Linked DNA regions of Homo sapiens: region 2 is linked to region 1. The links are contacts of gene promoters, found by promoter capture Hi-C in human tissues and cell types (Jung and others, 2019). All regions are on one chromosome and are shown on one strand. Each heading gives the region's core, a stretch centred on a gene start or on the middle of the fragment in contact. The rest is flanking DNA. Distances are from core to core; before and after follow the strand shown.

Evidence for each region. The method cuts DNA at HindIII sites, captures the fragments that hold promoters and counts their contacts. A contact is called where the count stands out against the background at its distance.
Region 2: a fragment that was not itself captured here is called in contact with the fragment with the promoter of MAP1LC3C in region 1 in 1 of the 25 tissues and cell types used here (spleen).

The regions. Positions count from the first base shown.
Region 1 is chr1:241,996,144-242,003,456 of GRCh38, forward strand. It overlaps MAP1LC3C (microtubule associated protein 1 light chain 3 gamma), which reads right to left and starts at 2,955. Exons shown (of 4, transcript NM_001004343.3): 1 at 2,808-2,955; 2 at 2,633-2,688; 3 at 2,371-2,477; 4 at 1-242. The coding sequence starts at 2,865. The coding sequence ends at 20. RefSeq lists an enhancer at 2,940-3,465. The HindIII fragment of the contact is 15,931 bases long and covers 775-7,313 here.
Region 2 is chr1:241,558,347-241,565,659 of GRCh38, forward strand. KMO (kynurenine 3-monooxygenase) reads left to right here. Exons shown (of 15, transcript NM_003679.5): 6 at 2,319-2,406; 7 at 3,821-3,986; 8 at 6,641-6,712. Among named protein-coding and RNA genes, the nearest start is that of KMO, 30 kb to the left of the region's middle. The HindIII fragment of the contact is 3,176 bases long and covers 2,617-5,792 here.

The DNA.
Region 1 (7,313 bases), core at 1,705-4,204:
ACATCCTTCCCGACATGGGCTAGAGAGGATTGCAGGGTCTGTCCTCAAGGCTGCTCCCATCCCTGGGGGCTGCTGACTCCAGGCAGCCAAATGTCTCCTGGGAGGCGTAGGTCATGTACACGAAGCCATCCTCATCCTTGTAGTCTCTGTAGATCTCTGCCATGGTTGCGCTCATGCTGACCAGGCTCTTGTTGTTCACCAGCAAGTAAAAGGCTTCCGTGGCTCTCAGGACCATGCGGCTCCTGGGATGGGCAGGAGGGTGGTGAGGGTATGGCCTGCGAGACAGCCCAGGGATCTGCAGCCTCATGACACTCAAGAAGACTGAATTGCTCCCTTCTTCTTCCCTGAGATTTAGGAACTACAAGGCTTCCCATTTGGGTCAAAAGGGTGAGGCCATTCCATGGATGAAATATGACAACACAAACAGGTTGAGGAAACATGACAACACAAAAATGCTAAGCAAATAACTTCCATTTGCTATGAAATTAAAGCTATTGGGCTGGATGCAGTGGCTCACACCTCTAATCCCAGCACTTTGGGAAGCTGAGGCAGGCAGCTCACGAGGTCAAGAAATCGAGGCCATCCTGGCCAACATGGTGAAACCTGGTCTGTACTAAAAATACAAAAATTAGCTGGGTGTGGTGGCGTGAACCTGTAGTCCCAGCTACTCGGGAGGCTGAGGCAGGAGAACCAGGAGGCGGAGGTTGCAGTGAGCCGAAATTGCGCCACTGTACTCCAGCCTGGTGACAGAGCAAGACTGCGTCTCAAAAAAAAAAAAAAAAGAAAAGAAATTAAAGCTATTTCCCTAGAAGTACAAAGGTGATGCACAGTCTCGCTGATATTTCACTTTTTTTTTTTGATTCCCCTGCCTCAACCTCCCAAGTAGCTGGGATGACAGGCACGCAACACCACACCTGGGTAATTTTTGTATTTTTAGTAGAGACGGGGTTTTGCCATGTTGGCCAGGCTGCTCTTGAACTCCTGACCTCAGGTAATCTGCCCTGCCTTGGCTTCCCAAAGTGCTGGGATTACAGTGTGAGCCACTGCGCCTGGCCCTAATCCTAACTTTCATTCTCCCTTGGCCATCTTCCATTCACACTGAACTAACTTTAACATGTAAGTTTGCCTAGAGAGAGGAAATCAGAATGCTCTTAACTCAGTAAAACAAAATAAAAAGAGGCCTGGGCAACATCGTGAGACCCCCATCTCTACAGAACATTTTTAAAATTAGCCGGGCACGGTGGTGCTTTCCTGTAGTCCCAGCTACTCAGGAGGCTGAGATGGGAGGATCGCCTGAGCCCAGAAGGCCAAGGCTGCAGTGAACTAGGTTCACACCACTGCACTCCAGCCTAGGCGACAGAGCTAAATAAAGCAAAATAAAAAGACACTCATTCATCGTGTGTTCTCAAAAAAACAGGCTGCAACAGCGATGCAGCTTCCAAGCACTTTTCAACCCTGTTGAAAACTTACTCATCGGGTATATTTACTTTACTCCCAAATCATTTTTTACTGAATCCATGTGTCAAGTGATGTCCTTTATGCTTTAAGAATAGCTGCCTGTTCTTTGCTGTACCTCTGGCTTAACCAAGGGAGGAGTGTGTTTGGGGGATGCTTTTCTCTCTCAGTGTTCTGAGCAGGGAACGTTTCCTTTGGGGAGAAGTCCCCACCCCTAGGCACACATACACTTGGAAAAGGTGCTGGTCTCTGCAACGGACGCGCAGACTCGGTTTCACACAAGATCTGAAAGAAAGGATCTCCCGGCCTAGCTTGAGAGCCAAGACTAACTACTTTAGGAAATTCTTAGAAATGTTGGCAGGTCTTTTTTGTTGTTGTCGTTGTCTGAGGGATTCTCCTTACCTGTTTAAAATAGAGTAATTCTTTTTTTTTTTTTTTTTTTTTTGAGACAGAGTTTCACTCTTGTTGCCCAGGAGTGCAGTGGAACAGTCTCGGCTCACTGTAACCTCCGCCTCCCAGGTTCAAGCGATTCTCCTGCCTCAGCCTCCCAAGTAGCTAGGATTACAGGCACCCGCCACCACGCCTAGCTAATTTTTGTATTTTTAGTAGAGACAGGGTTTCACCACGTTGGCCAGGCTGGTCTCAAACTCCTGACCTCTGCGATCCACCTGCCTCAGCCTCCCAGAGTGCTGGGATTACAGGCATGAGCCACTCCGCCCGGGGTTTAAAATAGAGTAATTCTAAGAGCATCTTTTCAGGGTACTAGTGAATCTAAAAGGTGACTTCAAAAAAATCTCTTTCCTCTCTTCCCCTGACGTGCCCCCATCCCCAAAATAAAACTGCCAAACGAAGAAAGCCCAACAGCCCCGGCGCACCCAGCGCACCTTCCTCCGGGGCACGCTCTGCGCCACCTACCGGATGATGCTGAGGAACTGGGTCATGGTCAGCTCCTGCGGGACCAGGAACTTGGTTTTGTCCAGCGGGGGCAGGAACGTCTCCCTGGGGTAGCGCTCCACTACCACCTGTCAAGAGTGTCAGTCCTTAAGAATGTGACTCAGCGTGAGTGTTAGGAACTTGGAACAGACAGAGGGAAGCTGTTGGCTGCTCTTGGTTTTTCAGAGAACAGGATCGGAACCCCACCCCCACGCCCCCCAGCGGAAGTCCAGTGGTGTCTTACCGGGATTTTGTTGGGGAACTTTGCCCGGATTCCAGCAACTTCCTCTTGTCTGATTGCTGTGAATATTTCAAGCACAAGAGAAGAAGCAAAGATCAAGAAAAGAAGCAAAGATCAAGAGAAGGCCAGATCCGCTCCTCTCTTTAGATAACCCAGAAAGCTACCCCAAGAAATTTACCCAAGCTTTTCCTCTGCTTGAAGGGTCTGACGCTTGGGATTTTCTGTGGAGGCGGCATTGCACTCAGTAGCTGTGTCTGTTTTAAAAAAGAAAAAAAAACTGTCCCGCAACCGGGAACCTAACTCATTCCTCCAGCTGCTTCCAAACTGCCTGCAGGAGCCTGAAGGAGGCCCTTATGTAGGGCTGAGTGACATCAGGCCTCTCCTCTCCCTCCCCTCTCCCCACTCCCCCTCCCTGGGCAGCAGGAGGTCAGTTCTGATGGAAATGGAATCGCCACCTGCTTGCTGGTCAGAGAAAGCCACTTTGTTCATGACCAGTTCAAGATGTTTCTTTGCAAAAGAAATTAGGGTTTGTAATAAAATCATTGGCTGGGCAGCGGACTGTGGAGAGGTAAAACTGCCTTGTGCTGGGATGTTTTTGCCCTTCAGTAGCAAGGGGGGGTCCAAGCTGGATCCACCTCAGCCTGAAGTGTGCTGTGTAGTTCTCACAATGGTCCATGCCCTTTATCACAGAAGGAAACCTATACTAAGAAAGGTGAAGTGATTTGCTCGAGGGCACACAGCAAGTAAGAGAAGCGGTATGGATTAAAACCTAGAGCTGTACACTGGGTGCAGTGGCCCACGCCTGTAATCCCAGCACGTGGGAGGCCGAGGCGGGTGGATCACCTGGCCAACATGCTGAAACCCCATCTCTACTAAAAATACAAAAATTAGCCGGACGTGGTGGCTGGCACCTGTAATCCCACCTACTCAGGAGGCTGAGGCAAGAGAATCGCTTGAACCCAGGATGCGGAGGTTGTAGTGAGCTCAGGTCACACCATTGCACTCCAGCCTCGGCAACAAGAGCGAAACTTCATCTCAAAACAAAACAAAACAAAACAAAAAAAACCCAGAGTTGTTACAAGGAAGTCCAAGTACTACACTCCAGTATATTCTGTCACTTAGTTTTCTCTGGGATAAAAGAAGGAAGGAAGGACAATTGTCCCCAAGATCTTGCTTTTAGAGTTAAGAAACTGGGTCTCTGGTCATACATAGGGGAAACCAAACTCCATTTCTCCTATATTCTCACAACACAGATCACTTTTGACACTAGATGTGTGTGTGTGTGTGTGGGTGGGTGGGGGTTCCCCATACACCGAGCAATCACTTCTACAGTGGACACCAGCTAGGTGTCCTCCAATCCAACTCTGACACTGTCTACCTGGAGACAGCATCAGATCGGGCTGAGGGCTCTGTCCCACAAGACTGTCCCCCACTTTCAATGCCGATTGCAAGCCCCAAGTTGTGTTTGTTGTTTTTTTGCTTGTTTGAAACAGAGTCTTGCTCTGTTGCCCAGGCTGGAATGTAGTGGCACGATCTCAGCTCACTGCAATCTCTGCCTCCTGAGTTCAAGCGATTTCTCCCGAGTAGCTGGGATTACAGGCACATGACACCATGCCTGGCTAATTTGTGTGTTTTTAGTAGAGAGGGGGTTTCGCCATGTTGGCTAGGCTGGTCTGAAACTCCTGACCTTGTGATCCTCCTGCCTTGGCCTCCCAAAGAGCTGGGATCTCATGCGTGAGCCACTGCGCCCAGCCCCTAGCTTGTTTTCCCTGTGCTTCTGATCTATGGGACATAAGTCAGGCTTCCCACAGCCCCCGCCTTGGGTTTCATTAATTGGCTAGAATGACTCACAGAACTCAGGGAAACACTTTTACCGGCTTATTACAGAGGATATCACAAAGGGTACAGATGAAGAGATGCATAGCGAGGTATGGGGGAAGGGCATACCACCCTCCAGGAACCTCCACGTGTTCAGCTAGCAGAACCTAGGCCTTTTGGGTTTTTACGGAGGCTTCATTATGTAAGCAAGATTGATTAAACCATTGGCCACTGGTAATCAATTTAACTTTCAACCCCTCTACCCTCCCCAGAGGCTGGAGGTGGGGCTAAAAATTCCAACCCTCTAATCTCACCTTTGTCTTTCTGGCGACCAGCCCCCATCCAAAGCTACCCAGGGACTGCTAGCCGTCAGTCAACTGATGAACTAAAAAAAGACACTTATTGCCGGGCATGGTGGCTCATGCCTGTAATCCCAGCACTTTGGGAGACCAAGGTGGGCGGATCACTTGAGGTCAGGAGTTTGAGACCAGCTTGGCCAACATCATGAAACCCTGTCTCTACTAAAATACAAAAAAATTAGCTGGGCGTTGTGGTGGGTGCCTGTAATCCCAGCTACTAGGGAGACTGAGGTAGGAGAATGGCTTGAACCTGGGAGGTGGAGCTTGCAGTAAGCTGAGATTGTGCCACTGCACTCCAGCCTGGGCAACGGAGCGAGACTCCACCTCAGAAAAAAATAAAAATAAAAAAAGACACTTACCACTTTGAAAATTCCAAGGATTCCACCAGGTGCAGTGGCTCACACCTGTAATCCCAGTACTTTAGGAGGCGGAGGTGGGCAGATCACCTGAGGTCAGGAGTTCAAGATCCACTTGGCCATCATGGTGAAACCCCCGTCTTCACTATAAATACAATAATTTGCCAGGCATGGTGGTGGGTACCTGTAATCCCAGCTACTCAGAATCCTGAGGTAGGAGAATCACTTGAACCCAGGAGGTGGAGGTTGAAGTGAGCCGAGATTGCACCACTGCACTCCAGCCTGGGCAACAGAGTGAGACTTCGTCTCAAAAACAAAAAACAGAAACAAACAAAAAAGAAAATTCCAAGAATTTTTAGAACTTGTATTCCAGGAAATTGAATGAAAACTAAACATGTATTTCTCAATATCACAGGGCCTGAGAAATTAATCCCTTGCCTGGACTCAAAAGGGCTAGGAAGGGCAAGACACAGCTCTTCCAGTTCCCACGGCCAGGAGTTGCTTCCTGGTACTTACGCCCATCCAGGTAGCCCTTCAGACACTGCATGGCCAGAAGGCTTGCATTTCCTTTATTGTTAGCAGTGTATGCCATGATTTTCTGTAGTCATTCAGCAGTGAAGAGTATTAAAATGAACAAAATGTGACAAAGGAGAAGGAGATAGTACATTTGCTGGTGAATTGAAGGGCCTGACTCTTGGGGCTTTAGCTCAATGATAAGAAATAGATGTCAAGAGATTAAATGATGGCATCATTGAAGAGATAAGTGGCCTCGTCCTCTTTCTCTGTCTTAAAAAAGAAGGCATCCCGTCAGGTGTGAATAGTAAGGAGCAAGTGTGCAGTGCTCTGTGCTAAAGTACCTTTCAAATCTGCAATCTCATGTAAACTTTCCCAGTTGCCTTGCATGTGGGAAGGGCAGGCAGGATGCTCACACTGCTGTGGTCTAGATCATTCAGCCAGAATGCAAACTGCGCCGGGATCCAACCCAGATTGGCCAATCTCCAGGGGCAGCCCAGACTCTAAGACCAGGCAAAGTTGGTTCCAAGCCTGGCCCTCCCACCTATGCACCTTAATTTCTGATCTTGGATACATGGCTTCACTTTACTAAATACGGCTTTTAATGGTTATGGTAATCTGTAACTCAGAATAGTTATGTGAGGCTTAAATGAACTGGTTTCTGTAAAGCAGCTAGCATAGTGCCTGCCACTGTTCCTCAGTGTATGTATCTTCCCGTCACTTCCCCAAGCCATGGTTCCCCCAAATCTTTATAATCCGAAGAATCCTTATGTGCATTGAGGTCTGAATGCTGAAGGCAGAGGTAGAAGGAAACAGTGCTCAGTTGGGGCCAGGAGAAAATCAATCCCAGCTGTGGTGTTTGGTCAATGATTATAAGGGCTTTGAGATGCTTCTTAACTGCCTTGCGTTTGACTTTCTGGGCTGAGGCATGGAGATTGCTATCTAGTCCAAGCAGGCTTGCCTCTCAGATGGAATGGAGATGAAGGAGGTAATAGAATGAAGCACTGGGAAAAAACAAAATGCAGCAACACTTCCAGAATGCATCATCTTTCAGGCAGAGGAATGGGCTGGATCGTTTTTTCCTTTTCTTTTCTTTTCTTTTTTTTTTTTTGGAGGGGGCGGAGGGAGACGGAGTTTTGCTCTTGTTGCCCAGGCTGGAGTGCAATGGCACGATCTCGGTTCACCGCAACCTCCGCCTTCCAGGTTCAAGCGATTCACTTGCCTCAGCCTCCCAAGTAGCTGGTATTACAGGCATGCGCCACCACGCCCAGCTAATTTTGTATTTTTAGTAGAGACGGGGTTTCTCCATGTTGGTAGGCTGGTCTTGAACTCCCGACCTCAGGTGATCCACCAGCCTCGGCCTCCCAAAGTGCTGGGTTTACAGGCATGAGCCATGGTGCCCGGCCAGTTTTTTTTTCTTTTCTTTTTTTGGGGGTTGAAAGCCATCTTTTGAGGGGAGCAGTGTCTGGTGTGTCGTCTGATGGCATCGTGCTCCTGGCTGGTGCTCCTCTGGCAGTGGAGTGAGACCTAGGTGGCTGGGAGGTGACCAAAACCACACACTATGGATGCTACATGGACCATGGGGAAGGAAATAAGAACAGTCCTGTGGCGAACAGCTGGAGCAAGAGTGCCCTCGCT
Region 2 (7,313 bases), core at 2,955-5,454, 440 kb before region 1:
TAAACTTTGTTGGGCATATAAAGTTCATTCTTTCTTTACGAGGCATCAAATGTGGGAGGTTTTCATTCCACACATTTAATCAATTGTAAATTCTCATTTCTCCCTAACTGCACAAACTCCTCTCTGAAAACATTGTTGCTACATGATTTCCCTACGTCGGCATTTCATGCGGGATTGTTTCACGGTTCATCTGCTATTCTGTGAGATGTTAATAATTATTAAGCCAAAGCAAACAGACAAAGGATGTGTGGCCAAATAAGTCTGACAAACCTTGCATCAAACAAGTTTTCAGTCTTTTTTCTTATAGTACTTCTCAGGGCTTTTATTATATTCTTGGTCTGCATTGTGGATCTTCCAGAGCAGCACAGTCCAACATGTGGCCACAAATACCAGGCACGTGTATACTTTTCCAATTTATGCTAACCATGTTAAAAAAAAAAAAAAGCAGCAGGTGGTGTTATGTTTAATAAGATATTTTAACCTAGGCCAGGCGCAGTGGCTCACACCTGTAATCCCAGCACTTTGGGAGGCCGAAGGGGGTGGATCACCTGAGGCCAGGAGTTGGAGACCAGCCTGGTGAACATGGTGAAACCCTATCTCTACTAAAAATATAAAAATTAGCTGGGCGTGTTGGTGGGCGCCTGTAATCCCAGTTACTCAGGAGAATCTCTGGAATCCTGGAGGCGGAGGCTGCAGTGAGCTGAGATCATGCCATTGCACTCCATCCTGGGCGACAAGAGTGAAACTCTGTCTCAAAAAAAAAAAAAAGATATTTTAACCTAATATATCCAAAATATTATTTCAATATGTAATCAATATCAGAAAGTTATTCACTGTCATTCTTTTTATATATACTTGTTCTAATTTGCCAAAATCCCATACAGGCAACACATCTCAATTTAGGATAGCCACACTCCAAGTACTCAAACACTACCTGTGGCTGGACACCAGGGCAGCATAGCCCAAGACAGAGTATTCAGCATTACTCTAGTCTTTGGCAATGGAACAGTTTTTTTAGGGAGTATATCCCAGGAGTAACGTTCTACAAAAAATTATTTAGGATGCAAAATACTATATACTTATGTAAAAAATAAACATAATTTTTTAAAAGTTTTTTTCACAAACACATGTTATGTTTCTAAAATATATCCTTAGTATATCAGGTCAATTCTGATTACTTCAAAGTTATTTGCCAAACTACTTCTTCTACATAGATGAATTTCTTTGGTTTAGGGTCTCTCAGATTTTGCAAGAAAGTTAAAATCTTCAAACCCCAAATCAAACTGAAACAAAAAAGAGTAAAATAAGACAAGATTGAGATGAAGAGAGGAGATAAGTACAGGCAGGAATAGAACTCCTGCCTTATTTTCCCCATTTTTTTCAAATTCAACATTCTTTTTATTTACGTTTTTGACATATAAAAACTGTACATAATTAATGTGTACAACTTGATGAGTTTGGTCCTTAATTTTTTCACTTTGTGTGATCTCAGGCATTTTACCTTTACTTCCAGAATCTTAGTTACTCCTTTTTTAAGATGAAGGATTTTGAACTAAATCATCTCTGAAGTCTATTCCAGCTCTAACACCTGTATTCTGATTTATACCTTTAAGAACAATAAATAGGCTATATTTATAGATGAATACATGAGCATTAATAGGGACAAAATCACATTTTACTGTTGTAACAAGGGCATAATTAATAGTTCATAAATTGAAATTCACTCAATTCTCTAGAGTGCTAGCAGGCAAAACAGAAAATTACGAAAATAATTTGTTTCAGTTTATTGAGAGGTTTCAAAGCTTCTTACTCATTTTCCCCCTAACTATTCCAGTGTTTGATTTCAAAGAGATTTAAAATCAACAATCTCTATTTGTGACAACTTCAATCAGAATTCCAGAAAACTAGCTAAAAAGAGATATAGAGACATGCGTAATATGAGGAAAGGAGTTTGACTGAATATTTCCAGTCACAACAAAGCCTCGGATTAGAGGCGACTTCTGAAATATGTGATGCTTGCTTCTTTCCCAGGGTGCTAATAATTACAGCAATGCAAGAGTTTGCACAATGGAATCAGTTGGATGTTTTCTTTTTGAGATGAGGATAATTGATTTTTATTCATCTGTTTTACTACCAAATTATACTGAAATAGTTACCAAACAGTTGTCAAATTACCATTTAAGTGAACTTATTTTTACATTGTTATGAATAAAATTCTCTACCATACTGTTCCCAGAAAACAATTACTATTTCAATTTGATTAAGTGAAGTAAGAATTGAGATTTCATTTCTGTTTGCCTCTTTCTCCATTTCCTCAGCTGCTGAGAAATACCCCAATGTGAAAATGCACTTTAACCACAGGCTGTTGAAATGTAATCCAGAGGAAGGAATGATCACAGTGCTTGGGTAACTACGGGTCAGGTTTTGGACTTCAGAGGTGAAAGCTGGGAGTGGAGAATTGTATCTGCAAACTTTGTTCTTTGGCTCTTTTGAAAGAGTTAAAAGATTATTGAAAGGATCATCCAAATAGTTTCTAGATTCAAGGAATTTTAGATTGCAAATAGGCCCTGATGGCCATCTGAACACCAATGCCAATAATTCTTAATTCTCACACTTGCTCACCTTCCTACTGTACTGTATTCCACACTGGTGACTCTAATGTGCTTCAAACTCTCTCCTCTCTCAAATATACGTGACCCTCCACTGCTCTCCTCCTGTTCTCTTTCCAGGTGCTATTTCTCTGCCTTTCCTTGGATGATTCTATTTCCTCTAAGGTTCCAAGCCTCATATCCCACTCTTGCGATATGCTATGGATCCACGCTCATGGGTTCAACAACCACATCTCTAAGATGAACATTTCCAGTCCAAGCCTCTTTCTTCATTCTAAATCCTTATAGAAGCTCAAATCAATTTATGTTAACTTCTCATCAAACATCCTTGCTGGAACATCTTGCCATTATCTCAAACATATCTAAAACCTTGATCACCTACTTCTCCCAAATCACATCCCATTCCTGACTTCCCCAGAACTAATGCCTGAATAATTTGAATCATTCATGATGTGTTCTTTCCCCTGTCCTCTCCCATTAAATCTATAACACTCCCCAGTCTATCCTACTTTCTACTGGCTTCAGAGTCTGTCTTCCTCCTTCTAGCTGCAGGACAGTACTTCCGGCTCTCATTCCTGCACATGTAATATAATGTGTTGCCATCACCTCATCCCTGTTTTCTGCTCCCTTTGGCATTCGGCCTTCTCTTCAAACTGCCAAGGAAGTTTTCTTAAATTGCAACTCTTCATACATCATTCCCCTAATAGATAATTTCAGTTTCCCTTTTGCCAGAATAATGTTTTAAAATCTTTTATCTTGACATTCAAGATTCTCTTCTTTTCCCCTTCCTTTCTCTCCCTACCTTGTATTCTTTTCTTAAGCTTTTCTTCTAATACCTGTGCTCAAGACAAATGTATTGTTCTTAGAAAATCCTGTGGTTGTTCATACATTCATTCGTACACTTGGAACACTTGCCCTGTTTTCAAGATTCTCCTCCTTCATGCAGAAATCTCAAATCCTGTCACACTTCTGTGGCCTACCAAGTCTTTATTAATCAATATGGTGTTGTGCTATTCTCATAAGCAAACTTATGACTGGGACAAGTGTTTTCATCTAAATGTTACATCTATTAACTCAAAGCTCCAAGTCAAACATGTGAAAGTGAGCTTTCTAAGTTATCTATGGAGCCACTACTTCTCATACCCAGAGGTACATCATCATTTTCACCACTAGACATATTTTTCTTTTGGATGTTTTGTTCTATTTTTCAGATCTGACAAAGTTCCCAAAGATGTCACTTGTGACCTCATTGTAGGATGTGATGGAGCCTATTCAACTGTCAGATCTCACCTGATGAAGAAACCTCGCTTTGATTACAGTCAGCAGTACATTCCTCATGGGTACATGGAGTTGACTATTCCACCTAAGAACGGAGATGTAAGTCCTTGCCCTTTTTCAACCCCTTCCCACAACCCTTGCTCCATGAGCGCGAATGCGTATTCTAGTGCAGTGGTTCTCAGCAGCATGTCTTGATCCATTTTGAGGCCTATCACAAGAACTTTGTAATGAAGAATAAATGGGATGCATGGGTATCTTTTTAACAGCACGATTCTCAGTCCTTCCTTGTTTGATATGCTTTCTGGAGTGAAAAAGAAAGGAGCAGTCTGGGCACAGTGGCTCATGCCTGTAATCCCAGCAATTTGGGAGGCCAAGGCAGGAGGATCGCTTGAACCCAAGATATCAAGACCAACCTGGGCCACATAGGGAGACTCTGTCTCTGTAAAAAATACAAAAATTAGCCAGGGATGTGGCACACGCCTGTGGTCCCAGCTACTCGTGAGGCTGAGGTGGAAGGATTGCTTGAGCCCAGGAGGTCAAGGCTGCAGTGAGCCGAGATCATGCCAATGCACTCTATCCTGAGCAACATAGCCCAATCCTGTCTTGAAAGAAGGAAGGAAGGAAGGAAAGAAGGAAGGAAGGAAGGAAGGAAGGAAGGAAGGAAGGAAGGAAGGAAGGAAGGAAAGAAGGAAGGAAGGAAGGAAGGAGACGGGAAGGGAAGGGAAGGGAAGGGAGAAGTTACAACCCTCTTACTGGAAACACATAAAGGATTTAAATAATATCGTTTGTCTATGTTCTCTTGGGAGAAAAAAACAGGTTGATGATGAATCCTTCAGTATACTGACAATCCAGAGTTCTTATAACCATGATTAAATCAAATAATAGTTATTAAATAAAATGACTAGAAAATTGTTGTAAAGTGATTTCTATTGTGTTTTTCTCATTTCCTGGTTAAACCATATGTGACTGGAGGCAAATAAGTGGTATGTAATGTTTTCATGTTGTCATAAGCAAATAAGTGTAGGAACTTGTTAAGAAAAAATTGCTAACAGAAACAATAAGGATATTGGCTTATAAGTATGGATATGCAAACAACATTAAATACTTGATTTGCATATAAAGCATACATTTTTAAGATGCTGATTTAATCTATCCTCTTAAATCCAGACAAGGGTAAAACAGCTAGTCAATATGGGATAGTGTTGTTAAATACTAAATATCAGCCAGTAAAATCCATATTTTCACATTTCATTACCTTTCTGTTTCATCCTCATGGTCAAAATGTATTCGCTAATTTTTTAGTGCTTATTGTACTGGTTTTCAGATAGCTTCTGCTCTCATGGCCCAGAATCTGATAACTCTGGATATAGGATAACAGAATTCTGTTGAAAAATTGTTCCAGACTTAAGAAGAACTGTGCTTGCTAAAGTAGATTTAAGAAAGCCCTTTATTTTCTAGGTATACATAATAAATAGTAATAATTGATGGTTTTAAAAAATGTCTCCACTCTTTTAAGAACATTGTTTAGGCATGGCAATGTGACTCAGACATGGGAGCATTTTGACATGGTCCAAAAACAAGCTTATGAGACTTTCTCTATTTTTCTTTGTGTCTTTTTTTTCTTTTGTTCTTCATGTAATGTGTGAAATAGACACTTGCACTCTTCTGATGGTTGGAGTTGGGGGCAAGAGATTGGGTAAATGGCTTTCTACCACTAGTATTACTGTTAAAGCGAAGTAATTGCTTTTCATATGTATTCCTCTTGCCTATTGGACTGCACTGTAAGGTCAAGAGTTATGCACGTACTCATTTCTGTGTCTGTGTGTTGGGCTTTCTTTGGGAGTCTGAGGCTAAAAAAACAAGGAAGACACAGTCCCTTCACCTAAGACACAAATAACTATGATACAGTGTAAAAATGTTAGCTCCAAGACTATGCTGTTTTTTTGGTATTCTTACTCTGTAAGCTATACATGGAAGGTGCTCTCAAAACATCTGTAGAAAATAATACAAATATGAAATAATTGGAAAGTTGATTGCATATTTCTATGTATATAATACCCCTGGGAACCTTCAAAAATGTGCGTCACTTGGGTCTTTGGGTCAATTGATCTACCCAAGCAATTAATACTTATTCAGGCTGTTATTGTATTAATAGTAATTACAGAGGACCCACTAAAGAGATAAGACTCTTCTCTATTATTTATGTTATAGGAAACAAACGATAAGAAGCTTGTTTCTAAAATTTTGGTTTGGCTCATGAAATTTAAATGTAAGACCTTTTTGTCCAGTATAGATAAGTTCTGAAATAAGGCAAAAGATAAAGTAAAAAATATATATATAAATATATAATGTATGTGCATACATTATATATGTGTGCATATACACACATGTACACATCTAGATATGTGCATGTGTGTGTACATATATACCAGGTATAATTATACCAGCTATGATTCAAGATTTGAGAACATAAGATGTTCTCTCTGTCTTTTTCCTTACATATACACACACACGCACGTATTCTGAAATCTTGAAATATACCTGGTATCAAAAACCTACCTAAGGTTGAGTTTATAAAGACAGAACACAAAGTGTTTTCTAAGACAACTTCTATTTTATGTAGCAATAGATGTGCGTATCATCGTGTAGATGCTACTGGTTTTAATTACTGTGGAAACTATTATAAAGCTGAGTCCGTTTTATAGGTTTGCTATATGAATGCACTAATCAATCATATATTCTTTTTTCTGCAGTATGCCATGGAACCTAATTATCTGCATATTTGGCCTAGAAATACCTTTATGATGATTGCACTTCCTAACATGGTAGTATAGAATTTTTTATCAACTGTAATTTTGCATTTGTAATTAATGTTGTTTATTACTTACATTTGTACTTAGAATGTATCTACCTAATTGATCTCTTCATTGTTTAATCCATTTAGTGATTATAGCTTTGAAACTTTGGGATTACTGAGGAAAAATCTGAAGGATTTCCAATTATTTACTTTGGAAAGGAGATTTAACTTACATGAATGGATAACAAGAGTTTATGTGTGGTGGTGCCTGTCATCTCCACTAAAGACAATTTAGGAGGAAACAGCCCTTCCAGTAAAGCCAAAGAGATTTAGGTTATCTATCAGGAAGTGATTCAGCCTTTAAGGTCTGTAGTACATTGGAATACGCATTATCAAAAGAGAGCATGGGGATGGGCGCAGCGGCTCACACCTGTAATACCAGCACTTTGGGAGGCCAAAGCGGGAGGATTGCTTGAGCTCAGGAGTTCAAGACTGATGTGGCCAACATAGCAAGACCTTGCCTCTACTAAAAAAAAAAAAAAAAAAAAAATGCCAGGCATGGTGACACGTGCATCCCCAACTACTCAGGAGGCTGAGGTGGGAGGATTGCTTGAGCCCCGAAGATGGAG